Linked DNA regions of Homo sapiens: all the other regions are linked to region 3. The links are contacts of gene promoters, found by promoter capture Hi-C in human tissues and cell types (Jung and others, 2019). All regions are on one chromosome and are shown on one strand. The core of a region is centred on a gene start or on the middle of the fragment in contact, and the rest is flanking DNA. Distances in the headings are between cores, read along the strand shown.

What was found. The method cuts DNA at HindIII sites, captures the fragments that hold promoters and counts their contacts. A contact is called where the count stands out against the background at its distance.
Region 1: a contact is called between a fragment that was not itself captured here and the fragment with the promoter of CYP24A1 in region 3, in 1 of the 25 tissues and cell types used here (spleen).
Region 2: a contact is called between a fragment that was not itself captured here and the fragment with the promoter of CYP24A1 in region 3, in 1 of the 25 tissues and cell types used here (spleen).
Region 4: a contact is called between a fragment that was not itself captured here and the fragment with the promoter of CYP24A1 in region 3, in 1 of the 25 tissues and cell types used here (spleen).
Region 5: a fragment that was not itself captured here is called in contact with the fragment with the promoter of CYP24A1 in region 3 in 1 of the 25 tissues and cell types used here (small bowel).

What each region holds. Positions count from the first base shown.
Region 1 is chr20:53,087,933-53,090,632 of GRCh38, forward strand. All of the region lies in intron 1 of TSHZ2 (teashirt zinc finger homeobox 2), which reads left to right. Among named protein-coding and RNA genes, the nearest start is that of TSHZ2, 120 kb to the left of the region's middle. RefSeq lists a silencer at 784-1,010. The HindIII fragment of the contact is 4,369 bases long and covers 1-2,700 here.
Region 2 is chr20:52,319,999-52,322,698 of GRCh38, forward strand. The region is part of intron 3 of LOC105372666 (a long non-coding RNA gene); the gene reads left to right. Among named protein-coding and RNA genes, the nearest start is that of ZFP64, 130 kb to the left of the region's middle. The HindIII fragment of the contact is 6,006 bases long and covers 1-2,700 here.
Region 3 is chr20:54,172,602-54,175,301 of GRCh38, forward strand. CYP24A1 (cytochrome P450 family 24 subfamily A member 1) reads right to left here and starts at 1,385. Exons shown (of 12, transcript NM_000782.5): 1 at 721-1,385; 2 at 308-498. The coding sequence starts at 978. RefSeq lists an enhancer at 1,015-1,608. The HindIII fragment of the contact is 4,712 bases long and covers 1-2,700 here.
Region 4 is chr20:53,160,294-53,162,993 of GRCh38, forward strand. The region is part of intron 1 of TSHZ2 (teashirt zinc finger homeobox 2); the gene reads left to right. Among named protein-coding and RNA genes, the nearest start is that of TSHZ2, 190 kb to the left of the region's middle. The HindIII fragment of the contact is 3,854 bases long and covers 1-2,700 here.
Region 5 is chr20:53,071,716-53,074,415 of GRCh38, forward strand. All of the region lies in intron 1 of TSHZ2 (teashirt zinc finger homeobox 2), which reads left to right. Among named protein-coding and RNA genes, the nearest start is that of TSHZ2, 100 kb to the left of the region's middle. The HindIII fragment of the contact is 3,396 bases long and covers 1-2,700 here.

The DNA.
Region 1 (2,700 bases), core at 200-2,699, 1.1 Mb before region 3:
AACTCTCTCCTCCAACCTTTTCCCAAGCAGTTCTCTCTACCTGGCATTATTTTTTAAAATTGACTTAAGCTTTGCCCCCTCTTGGAAGCATTCTATTACCCCATGTCTGTCTTCAAGATGAATTCAGCTTCCTGCTCTGTTGTCCCATAAGTATCCTGGGCATAGTTCTGCTCTGGGACTCATCACCTATTGCTGAAATCCTTTTGTTTTCTTACCTGTTTCCTACTGAACAGAGAGCTTCTTGAGGTCCAGCACTGGGGCTTAATTTGATTCATTTAGTAAGTTTTTGTTGGGAACTTACTATATATGAAGCACTGGATTCAACTCTGGGAACTCAAAAGTGAACAGAATGTACACAATTCTGCTCTCATGGAATTTATAGTCTACTGGAGTTAGACAGACATTTTAAAAAATTATCATACAGGAAATTGCAATGAGTAATTTTGTTGGGTACTATGGAGGGAAATCCTTTAAGGGCCCTGTTTGTTTCTGACTTTAAAGCACTAGCAACAAATTGGCATTAACTGATTATGTGATTTGAATGGAATTGAGGATCTCAGCGTTGGCCCTCCGTCCTGCTGTTGTCAACTCTCCCAAGTTTTTAAATGCCAAGTTGTAGTTGCCTTTGTTCCGCTAAATTGAAAAATTTACCCCGTGCAAATGAATAACTAAATTCATATTTTTTTGAAGAATTCTATCTAAATGGAGATTTGATGGCTTTCAGAAACCTTTAAAACTTCCCTTTCCCCCATATGAATTCCACTATGGATTGACATATGGCATATTTTCAATGTCTAGTTTTTGTAATTAATTGAAGGCTCACTCTGTCTGAGAAAGAGAGTGCTTTGGCATTTCCGAGACCTGTGGATTCCATCCAGAGTACCACACAGCAATGCAGAGACTCCACTGCCGCTCACCTAGCTAGGAGGCTGCAGCTCTGTTTGTGAAATGTTGCTATTCAGCTTTCAAGTTTATTGGGAGCACTGAGTTCCAAGGATAGCAATTAGGTTGTTCTGCATTCTTCGGCTGGCTCAGGATGCACGTGCTGAGACTGCACATCATAGCAACGGCTCCTTGACTGCCAGGGAGAACAGTGTGAAAGCTTTCCGTGGCTCATCTCAACCACCTCCTCCTCGCCCCTGGCGCTCCGCAATCCTCTCTACTCCTTGGTGATACCTTTTTAAATCTCCCCATTATGTTCAACAGCATGTCAGCTGAGAGTTCAGGCTTACGAGATCATGTCCAATAGGCCAAAGTGTCGAAAATAAATGTTAGCTCATAAAACATACGTGGCACATCTATAGGGCCTGAGGAAAGCCCACACAGAGAAAAAAATCTTAAGTGAACTTGTTTAACCCAGCAGTGACAGGTACAGGAATGGGATTTTCTTTTTTTTTTTTTTTTTTTTTATTAAACAGAGTTTTTCCAACTTCCAGGCTGGCAAAGAAGTTGTAAAGGGAATGTACATTTTGCACCGTAATAGAAAGAGATAAGTAGGGATTTTTCCAAGATTTGGAAAGCTGGTCTTCGTAAGTCCATTTATTTATTCAACAAAAACTTTATGAAGTATCTATTACATGCCAGGCACTGTACTTGGCATTTGGGATAACATAGTGACTGAGAAAAGATTTGCCCTTGAGAAAAATCACAGCCCCTTTGGAGGGACTGACATTAACCATTTAATCACATAAATATGATTTTTCACACAGTAATAATAGCTATGAAGATTAAAAAGCTAGATCATAAGATACGTGGCTATAAGAGAACTCCCTGATAGGGTGACATTTTAGATAAGTCTCAAAGGGTGAGAATAAACTGTCTACATGAAGAACAAGAAAAGAACCTTTCAGTCAAAGGAAATAGCAAGTGCCCAGACCCTACTGAGGAAGGCCTGGGGAGCGCCCAAGAATCCTGTGTTAATCAGGGTTCTCCAGAGGGACAGAACTAATAGGATAGATGTATATATCAAGAGGAGTTTATTAGGAGAATTGACTCACAATTGCAAGGTGAAGTCCCACAATAGGCCATCTGCAAGCTGAGGAGCAAAGAAATCAGTCCAAATCCCTAAACCTCAAAAGTAGGGAAGCTGACAGTGCAGTCTTCAGTTTGTGGCCGAAGGCCCAAGAGCCCCTGGCAAACAAGTGTTGTAAGTCTAAGAGTCCAAAAGCTGAAGAACTTGGAGTCTGATGTTTGAGAGCAGGAAGCATCCAGCACAGGAGAAAGATGAAGGCCAGAGGACTCAGCAAATCTGCTCTTTCCATCTTCTCCTGCCTGCTTTATTGTAGCTGTGCTGGCAGCTGACTAGATGGTGCCCACCCAGACTGAGGGTGGGTCTGCCTCTCCCACACCACTGACTCCAATGTTAATCTCCTTTGTCAACACCCTCACAGACACCCCCAGAAACAATACTTGGCGTCCTTCAATTCAATCAAATCGACACTCAATATTAACTGTCACAAATACGAAGGAGACCATTCTGACTGGGGTTGAGAATAGGGTGGAGAGAGTCAGGGCATGAAGCCATGGGGGAATAGGTTTGCTGGAATTTGAAAGCCATGAGACAGAGTGAGGAGTTCCTTCCAATTGAAAGATTTTAAGCAGCAGAATTCAGACATGAACTTTGGCTGGGTTTGGAATGGAGTGCACCTCTGTAAGACTGAGGTGCACCATTTCCCCGTCTGCCAAAATGGAGCAGCTGAC
Region 2 (2,700 bases), core at 29-2,528, 1.9 Mb before region 3:
ACCAACATGGTGAAACCCTGTCTCTACTAAAAATACAAAAATTAGCTGGGCATTTTGGTGCATGCCTGTAATCCCAGCTACTCGGGAGGCCGAGGCAGGAGAATCACTTGAACCCCGAAGGTGGAGGTTGTAGTGAGATGGGATCGTACCACTGCACTCCAGCCTGGGCGACAGAGCAAGACTCTGTCAAAAAAAAAAAAACCATCCTCTCCAAAAATCCCCATAAACTCCCACTTTTCTGTCTTTAAGATGAAGGACACCATGCTAGGCATTTAGGACTTGGTTTGGTTGACACTATGGGAATTAATCTGCCAATCTCTGAACTTCTTGACCACAACATCTCTGTTGCTACACCTCAGCCCTGTTGTTTGAAAGCAGCCATGAACAAGGCATAAACGAATGGGTGTGGCTCTGTTCCAATAAAACTTTACTTATAAAACCAGGCAGATGTGGCCCACCGGTCCTAGTTTGCTGACTACTGCCATATAAGATCAAAATATGCTCATTCCCCCTTCTAGTGTCATCTTCCACCTTGTATTAGTCCATTCTTGCATTGCTATAAAGAAATACTGAAGGCCGGGTGTGGTGGCTCATGCCTGTAATCCCAGCACTTTGGAAGGCCAAGGCGGGTGGGTTACCTGAGGTCAGGAGTTTGAGACCAGCCTGGCCAACATGGTGAAACTCGGTCTCTACTAAAAATACACAGAACAATTAGCTGTGCATGGTGGTGTGCACCTGTAATCCCAGCTACTCAGGAGGCTGAGGCAGCAGAGTTGCTTGAACCTGGGAGGTTGCAATGAGCTAAGATTGCACCACTGCACTCCATCCTGGGTGACAGAATGAGACTCCATCTCAAAAAAAAAATATTAACAAAATATTATATATTTTATGTACTAAGCCTTTCAAATCTGATGTATATTCTGTACTTGCAGTGTTTCTAGATTTTTGGACTAGTCACCTGTCAGATCCTCACTGGCCATGGTGACTACCATATTGGACAGCACAGGACTATAGAGTTTGAGCTTTTGAAGGACAAGGACAGGTTGATGTCCTGGTGACTGACTCATAAGCATTTCTTCAGTGGTGGCTAACTACCTATCTTTGGCCAACCTTCCTTGTGTTTCAGTCTGCCAAAGTTTTGGGATAAACCATCACTGTCAAAATTTATTGGTACTCAAGGGAAAATCAAGCTTTTTGTGGCATCACACAACATCATAAATTAAAACATATGCTTTAAAAAATTATGATGTTACATCATGCTTTGAGGTAATGTAATGTGACAGATTGTAATTTTTATTTTTGTAAGATTTCCTCAGTGTAAAGCAGGAAGTGGATTTGAGAAGGTTTGCAGTACCCAGGACCTCTGAATCAGGACCACATTTCCAGGCTGCCACAGTGTTGGTGCTTGGTACATCAGGCAGCGGTCTCTGCTGGGTCCTTAGTCTTCTTTTCTGTGACCCTCCTGTGGTTCATTTGGATTCTATGTTTATCCTAAGAATCTCCCAGGGATCAAGAGGGTTCTTTGCAACCTAATTCACTCTACTGGGCTATATGATTTTGGAACTAGAGTTTCCATTGGTTTATGTAGAATGACTGGCAAATTTTGTCTCAAATGCAAATTAGATTGGTTTTTAATGGTTGTCTGGGGTCTTAATGCTAAGAAAACTTCTGAGGATGCCTCTGCATTCATGTAAGAGATGACGTTAGTCAACCAGCAGTGTTTGCCATGGGCTTGCAAAGGGGTAGAGGCCGTTTATACAATATGTATTTGACCATCCTGACCTAAGTGTCTGTTTCTTGCTTCTTGGATGGGCACGTAATGGGAGTTTCTTTAATTGGGCTAGGAACAGTGTCAAAGGAAGGGCAGGGGTCCTATACATGGGTTGAACTTAGTGGCCAGTTTACCCAAGGCAGTTTGGGTGAGTGAAAGGCCCCAGCTGTGGTCAGTGCCTAGCAGAGCTTGTTGTATGGGAAGCAATGCCTAGTGCTAGGTTCAAATGTTGAGGCCAGGATAAACGTTAAGTCTGGAAGCCAGCAGGAATAAGGGAAGACTAGAATAAGTTATATAAAATAACAGGAGTAAGCAATTCTGACTGGAGGAAAGCTGGCAAAGCAATGGGTTTCATCTCATGGTAATCCAAATTGCTTAGTAGTGTCTGCCAAGAGCTCTGTGTTGGAGGGCTTCTGGATTGTGCCAGGGACTGGGGAGGCAGGAAGTCATGATTGATTGGTAATGTCTGCCATGAGTGTGGGAGCTACGCAGGACAGTACACATGCTACATATTTGCAATCCCTGATTTAGAGGCATGGTTATGCTGGAGTTCACACAGAGAGAGAGAGAGAGGCATGGTTGATTGGTAATGTCTGCCATGGATTTTGGAGTTATGCAGGATGGCACACATGCTACACATTTGCAATCCCTGATTTAGAATCATGGTTACAGTGATGGCTTAAGAAAATTCCCTGGTTGTCTTTGACATACGCATATTTTGTTTTCTCACCTAATATTTATTTTTTCACTTAATAATTGACCATTAGTTGTCTCGATCTGTGTTGGGGTTTAGTCATATTCATTGAACTATAATAAAATGGGTCTCCAAAGAACACAAGTTAGACAGTGGTAAGTGCCATTGAGTAAGTGGAGGAACTGGGGGGTTAGCAATGGGTTCATGAAGGATGTGGCATTTGAATGGGGTATTG
Region 3 (2,700 bases), core at 135-2,634:
GCCCAAGAGTCTGAACACCACAGTTGGTACAACCCTGTTTTGGCGTTTCTTTGATGGGAGGGTGTGGCCCTGCCCTGTTGCCAGAGAGAACGCAGGTGCTGGGTGCACAGCACGGCTTTTCCGTGGACCGACTCTAATCTGTACAAGAGCTCAGGGTTGCGATGGCACGGGAGAGGGGCTTTGGTATCCGCCCTACGTAAGAAGCTTCCAACCCCAGGGAACTCTAACTCCGCCTCTTCACAATTTCCAGGCGCCGTCAGGCTCATCAGGTCTGGCCGCATGCCCAGGTCCCTCGGATTGGACTCACAGGATCAGCAGCCCGTAGCCTTCTTTGCGGTAGTCGCGATAGGCCTTCCACGGTTTGATCTCCAGCCGCTGCGGGTACGCGCTCTCGGTGCGGTACAGCGCTTCCAGCAGGCATGGCGAGCCCAGGTGCACCGACTCAAAGGAACCCAACTTCATGCGGAAAATCTTGCCATACTTCTTGTGGTACTCCACCTGCAGCCGGCCGGGCACAGCGCGGTGTCAGCGCGCATCCTCCGCCGTGCCCGAAGCGCTTTCCCTCCTCCCGCCTCCTTCCTCCTAGGGGACCGGGGACCCTCCCTGCCCAGACGCCGAAGCGCACCATGCGCCCGAGGCGCGCATGTCGGGGAGGGTTTGGAGCGCCACTGGGAGGGCGGAAGAGGGAGGAGAGAGTCAGGGGCGCGAAAAGGGGTTTACCAGGGTGTCGTGCTGTTTCTTGAGACCCCCTTTCCAGAGAATCTGCAGCAGGCTGCCCAGCAGTGGCCAGCTGGTGGGGCCCGGCAGGGCGGCCGCGTTCTGAGTCTCGCCACCAGCTGTCAGCGGGCAGACTGGCACCTCTCGCGGCTGAGGGGACGTGTACGCCGTAGATGTCACCAGTCTCGGGGGCTGCCTCGGACTGCGCAGCTGCTGCAGGAAGGCGGCAAGCGAGCGGCTCTTGCTGATGGGGGAGCTCATGGCAGCGGGGGACACCGGAGCGCGGGAAGGCAGGAGGATGGGGTGGGGCGAGGTTGGTACGAGGTGCTAGTGGGAGTCGGGGCTTAACGATTCTGGGAAAAGGAAGCAAAGAGGGCCAGCTGGTGTGATGGAGCGGGGTGAGGCGGGACAGGCAGCAGAAAGGACCTCGGCGAGGATGCTCGACGCTGCACCACGCGACAGCCTCAGAGCATTGGTGCCTCCTTGCACTGGCCGCAGGGGCTGGAAGAGGGTGGCCGGTGTCTGGGGACCTCTTGAAAAGGGAAAGCTGGGAGTCCTCCTGTTGGTCCGCAAGGCTGACCTCTAGGGTCTGGCTGGAGCCACGGGGAGGTGTCAAGGAGGGTAGATGAGATGCTGCTGGCGCTGCGTTTCCTCCTGTCCCTCTCCATGTTCCTATGCCCAGGGACCATGCATTTATGGAGACAGAGCATGCCCTGGGTGGCCAATGAGCACGCAGAGGAGGGCGGAGTGGCCCCCGGCTGGCCAGACTCCGAGGGACGCGGGACCCAGGGGAGGGGGGGTGGAAGGAGGATGGAGTCAGCGAGGTGAGCGAGGGCGTCCGGGCCTGGGGTGACCGGGGCTATGTTCGCTGGGCGCGGGAGGTGGGGTGGGGGCGGCAGACTCCACCCCGGAGATAACCCCCAGGAAGTCATGCGAAGCCCGGAGTTCACCGGGTGTGCTTCGAACGCGCCTCCCCGCCCTCCCCCGGCGGGCAGGAGCCGGCAGCGGCGGCCGTGGTTGCCGCCCGGCGCTTGCACAATCGCGATGCCGGGCGGGCGAGGTCCCCGAGTGCGGGCCCAGAAAAGCTGCCGGCGTCTGCCAGGGCCCCGGGGAGCCCGGGCGCCTCCCGGGGAGCCAGATACCCCCAGCCTGGACTGAAGTGATTTTTTTTTTTTTTTTGCCTTTTTTTTTTTGGAGGAAGTTTGGCTTTCTGCGCCTCCCAGGGTGGGGAGGATTTGAGTCTTACTGAAATGCACCAGAAGAGGAGACTTTCTTAACTTGAGCAAGAAGGGGAGTTTGTAGAATTTCCTTCCTGCTGTTTCATGTTTGGTTGTTTTGCAGATTAAATGAATTAATGCACGTAAAGCGGCAACAACGAAGCCTTGTCTATAGTCAACAGTCAATAAAAGTTAGTTGCTGTTGTTACTTCTTTAGGAAGTTAGGAAATGCGCCTTGAGAGCGTGGCTTGCACCAACGATGCTTGAATTCAGGCTGGGCCACCTCCCCTATGTCCACTGCCCGCCTCTGTTCTTCTACACCGACTACCTTGTGCAAAGGAGGGGCACACAGAGCTTGAAACCACCGCCCCCAGTACTCCCCCTCTCCCCCAAGGTGCGTCCTAGGCAGGTCCAGTGACAAACATACACAATTTCTAGAGTTACCGCGGCTGGCAAGAGTAGAACTCGCTTTGCTAATTCAGGAACGGAAGTTGGAGATTTTTGTTGATTGTTTTAAAGTGGCTCGAATCCTTTCAACCTGATCCAATACAAAACTACCACCAGCCAGGGAGGAGGGGAGGGACATTCTGTTTCCTCGCCCTGCTTTTCAATTACGTGTCTCAGTCATTTTTGCCCCAAGTGTTGGCAAATCCTTCCCTGGTAAATTCTTTTGTAAGCCTCTAGTTTGTTTCTTAAAAATCTTTTGCAGTCCAACTTAAGCTTTAACACCATCATTTCTGATTTGTCTGGAGGGGCTAATGACTGT
Region 4 (2,700 bases), core at 106-2,605, 1.0 Mb before region 3:
GATGATCTTTCACCTTCATGGGTTCAGGAGTCCACATCAAATCCCTTATGGCTATGCCGAGTCTAATCCCTAGTCGTGCAAAGTATCTCTTCTCTGTGTTCCATAATCATCTGTTGTTCAGTTCAGGCATTTACAGTATTGCTGGAGCCAAGTAAAGCATGCACAAGTGCAGTAATAAGACAGACATTTTCAGGGCCGGGGGCAGTGGCTCATGCCTGTAATTCCAGCACTTTGGGAGGCTGAGGTAGACAGATCACTTGAGACCAGGAGTTCAAGACCAGCCTGACCAACATGACAAAACCCTGTCCCTACTAAAAATACAAAAATTAACTTGGCATGGTGGTGCACACCTAAGGCATGAGAATCTCTTAAACCCGGGAGGTGGAGGTTGCAGTGAGCTGAGATTGTGCCACTGCACTGCAGCCTGGGTGACAGGGCAAGACTCTGTCTCCAAAAAAAAAAAAAAAAAAGACATTTCAGTTTGCCCTTTCTAGATGAACCATGTGGCAAACTACACCTCTGGAAACATTTTTCTTTTGCTCACCATAGGCCCATCTTCTTTGAATGTACATCTTCATCTATATATTCCCTACTCTTAATCTATTTCTTTATAAGGTGCTAATAGGCCAGGTGAAAATTTCCACTAATCTATTAATAAAAGCAGACCAGTGATAGGCTTTAAGAATAAAGTCATGATAAAGTTAGCAAATACAGAGGGGAAAGAAACAGCAAAATGTTTGGGGTTTTTTGTTTGTTTGTTTTCGAGAACATTGCTACTTGGTTCCATTAGACTCCTTTGATTGTACATGACAGAAACCAACTCTGGTTATTTTCAGCAAAAAAAAAAAAAAAAAAAAAAATAGGAGGTAATGCAAGGCTATCTGATGGAGTGGTATTTGACTTGAGAGCTCATTATTGAGGAAAAACCCAGCCAAATGAATGTCTGCGGAATGAGTGTTCTAGGCAGTGCAAAGATCCTGAGGTGAGAGCAAAAGAGGTGTGCCACAGGGTTGGAGGAAAGACCCATGGGTGGGAGGAGGGTGAACATGACGGGGAGCACTCAGACTGATGAGACAGGGCTTTGTAGCTCATGGTAAGGAGTTTTAATTTCATTCTCTGTGATAGAAAGCCTTACATGTGTAGTAGTCCGTTTTCACAGTTCTATAAAAATACTACCTGAGACTGGGTAATTTATAAAGGAAAGAGATGTAATTGACTCACAGTTCTGCATGGCTGGGTAGGCCTCAGGAAACTTACAGTCATGGCAGAAGGCAAAGGAGAATCAAGTAACTTCTTCATAAGGCAGCAGGAAAAGAGAGTACAAGCGAAAGAGGAACTGCCAAACACTTATAAACCCATCAGATGTTGTGAGAACTCAACTCACTATCATGAGAACAGCATGAAGGAATCCGCCCGCATGATACCATCACCTCCCACCAGGTACCTGCCTCAACACGTGGAGATTATAATTCCAGGTGATATTTGGGTGGGGCCACAGAACCAAACCATATCATAGGGTTTTAAGTAAATGAGTGATATTATTTGAGTTAGAGTAGAGAAATATCACACTTCTATAAACAATTACTATATCTCAGGCACTGTATATCCACCTTAGGTCCTTTTCCTTTAATCTTCACCAATGAATGGGTACAATTATTATCACTTCTCAGATTAGTAAAGTGAGGCTTAGGGAGGAAAAGCAACTTGTTTGGAGTCACATAGTGACTATATGGCAAATCTGAACCTCAACCCTTGTCATCTGCCTCCAGTTCCTGGCTCAAAATACTCATTAAAGGCTCATTTTTATTGCCATTGTTTATGATGTTTATTTTTCTAACCCTTCCAAGAGTGTTTTGTGGATTGCATTATTCTTTTCTTCTCAATTTTATAAATAAAAGAGACTCGCCTCAAAATCACAACTGAAGGAAAAAAATAACAAACTTGTAGTTTCCTCTAAAGAACTTCACGGACACCCAGCTCAGAAGAATTTGGCCCGGCCAGGGATGGGGCGGGGAGGGAAGGACTGGCTGCCGCAATGTTTTGGGTTCGGCCATCCCATTTGTGAGAATTAGGAATGTTCTTTGGACAAAAGATCAAACACAAGCTTACTCCTTTCTATGCTGAGACGTTGCCCACTCGCTTCCTCTTTTGTATCTTTCCTGGTAACTCGACTTCAGTTTCTCTGATGGTAAAGAGATGAGATCAGCCACTAGGGGATCGGTCGATGGGATCAGGTTTCAGTCATCAAAAAATTACGTCAAGTGCTAAGCATGAGTTACCTTCCACTGCCAGTGTCAGCCCAGGACGTGACTGCAGGGCCATCAATCCTGCCTTCCTTGTCCTTGTAGATGTTAAAATACAGGGTACTCTGGGAATTCATTAGTGGGGGTGTTGCATGGGAAAGGAGGGGCTATGCTCCAGGAAAAGTGGGTATAGAGGCAGAGATGTAGCTTTCTAATGCTGTTACCTTGCACATTCTAACTATTAACTGCAGAGACATCTGCTGATTGTTTTCTTTACAAAGCGGGGGAGGGGGAGAAAATAAGAAAGTTAATTTCAGAGTTGGAAGCAGGTTTAAAATGACCTTCGTCAGTTATAAATATAACATCTACTTACTTTTAACCAGTTTATTTCCAATTCAATAACTTTTATTGAGTGTTTCCATCATAATAATTGTTTTTAAAAAGTTTACTATTAGAA
Region 5 (2,700 bases), core at 97-2,596, 1.1 Mb before region 3:
ATGGGTTTTATTGCTTATCCAAGATCTTTTTCCTCTCCCCTGCATCCAGGGACGTCCGTGAAGTCATGTCCCCTGAATACCCCTGGAGAGTAGTACTGTGTGTATCTGTCTATAAAAATCTCTTTTGCTTGTTTTATTGGAGACACTGAGGGCTTTGGATTGTCGTTGTCTCAACCAGGAATGATCCTGTACTGCCCCAGCTCCCCAACCCAGGCCGGCATTTTGCAATTTGCAGAGTCATTTTTGGTTGTCAAAACAGATGGGAGCTTTTACTGTCAGCTTGTGGGGTAGAGACCAGAGATGCTGCTAAACATCCCGTAATGCACAGGGCAGCCCCACAGCAGAGAATCACCTGGCCCCAAATGTCAGTCGCGCGGAGGCTGGGGAACCCCGGTGGAATATTCTGTGCTATGCTGTAGTAGCTGGGGTTTGTTTTCCTAACCAACAAATCCAAACAGAAAAGCATCGGGGATGCTAAGCTGGGTTGGAGCAGAAGTAGTTTGGGAAATTCTTTTGTTTCTATGACATTAAGGACTTTTTTTAAAGGGATGCATCCCATGTTTTTGGCTTCTTTAAGGCAACATGGTATACAAATACAAGTGCAAAGAGTATCTTCAGGGTATACCACAAAATCATAATAATCCAGCAATATCAATTACCACTTGGGGGAAAGGGGTCCTACTATGTTTCTCTCTTAGAAATAATAAAAATATTCATTGACTGAATGCTCACAGCTGCTCTGCAGCCCTGCTTCTGTCCCTTTTCATTTGTAAGCTTGGAAAATAAAATTGTCCTTCCTAGTCTCCTCATTCCTCATTGCAACATGAAAGGGGTGAATCTAAATAATGTCTTGTTTCCATTCTATTTGTAAGAGCCCATAAAATTGATAAACTACTTATAGATTTTAATTAATATGATTAAAAATAACTGATTTGGCTTCATTTTCTCCTTCTCATTTGGGTGTTTTGACACCATCCCTAGAAGGTTTTCCAAGACTCCTCTGAGAAGTCCATTTTTGGAACCTAGAAAGTATGGGAATAGAGTCTGTGAGACTGGACATTTCCTTACTGTTTACTGGGGGGTCGAGGCAGGTAAATTCACTAGAATGGGATCAACCATTAGCCTTGAAAACAATAAAGGCATATACTTCTGCCCATCCATCCATCAATCCATTCATTCAATCCTCCATTCCTTCATCCATCCATTCATCCCTTAATCCATTCATCCATCCCTCCGTTCCTTCATCCATCTATCCCTCCATCCATCCCTCCCTTCATCCATCCCTCCCTCCATCCATCCCTCCCTCCATCCATCCCTTCCTCCATCCATTCCTCCTTAATCCATTCATCCATCCCTCCATTCCTTTATTCATCTATCCCTCCTTCCATCCATCCCTCCATTCATCCATTCCTCCATCCATCCCTTAATCCATTCATCCATCCCTCCATTCCTTCATCCATCTATCCCTCCATCCATCCCTCCCTCCATCCATTTATCCCTTAATCCATTCATCTGTCCCTCCATTCCTTCCTTCATCTATCCTTCCATCCATCCATCCCTCCATTCATCCATCCATCCCTTCATCCATCCATCCATCCATCCATCCCTTAATCCATTCATCCATCCCTCCATTCCTTCATCTGTCCCTCCCTCCCTCCCTCCATCCATTCATCATTTAATCCATTCATCCATCCCTCCATTCCTTCATTCATCTATCCCTCCATCCATCCATCCATTCATCCATTTCTCTATTCTTCCATTTACACATATGGATAGAGACACATCTGAAATATAATTAACTGAAGGTTAGAGTAATTTCTAGATGCTGGGCTACTGAATGATTTTAAAACTTTCTTCTTTATAATTTTCTCTATTACTTAAATACAGTAAGTATGAGTCATTTTAACAATGAAATTATTATTTTTTAAAAGGAAGGGGATGATACGGGATGAGCTAATGGATGCTTTTCAACAGTCCAGGAACACTGTTTTGATAGTTGAAAAGAGTGGTTCTCATCTTTTATTAACTCCATTCCGTCAAGTTAAAAAAAAAAACTGGTCTATTTTCAGTTTTAGGCCTGGGTTGATTGATGTACATTTTTAACTTTGAGACATGCATGTTTAATTATAGTTTTCCACTGACCTCAGTGTTTGTTACTTATACTATACATTAGCTAAAAGTAGACACTATTAATTATACAGATTTGTTTCAGGATTTCTTGGGGGCAGGATTTTGCTACATACTTTGGGATGCCTGGTGATGTGTGAGGTGCTTCCACACTTTCTAATTTCAAATTTCAAGGATCTTCAGTCTGGCTGCAGTGAAAAGAAACTAAAAAACTGACTTCGCAATTCTAGCATTGTAAAAGACATGTACATACAACTGTCTCTCACCTTCATGACATCCTTGGTGAACTCTTATGTATCTTTTAAACTGCTGTTCAAATGTCGCCTTCTCAATGGAGCCCTCCTTGACCACTCCCTTGTGAAGTTAGAGGATTCTTCCTTTGAGTAAGAAGTTAAATGTTTCACTTTCTTCTCACAATACCCTGTATTGTACTTGGAAATAGAAGTTACCACATTGCTGAAATTATGTCCTAAGTATCAGTCCTTTCTACTGGATTTTGAGTTTCCAGAGGGCTAGGACCAGGATTCATGGGTCTTTGTGTTCTTACAGTGCCTCAATTGCTCACCAGGAAGT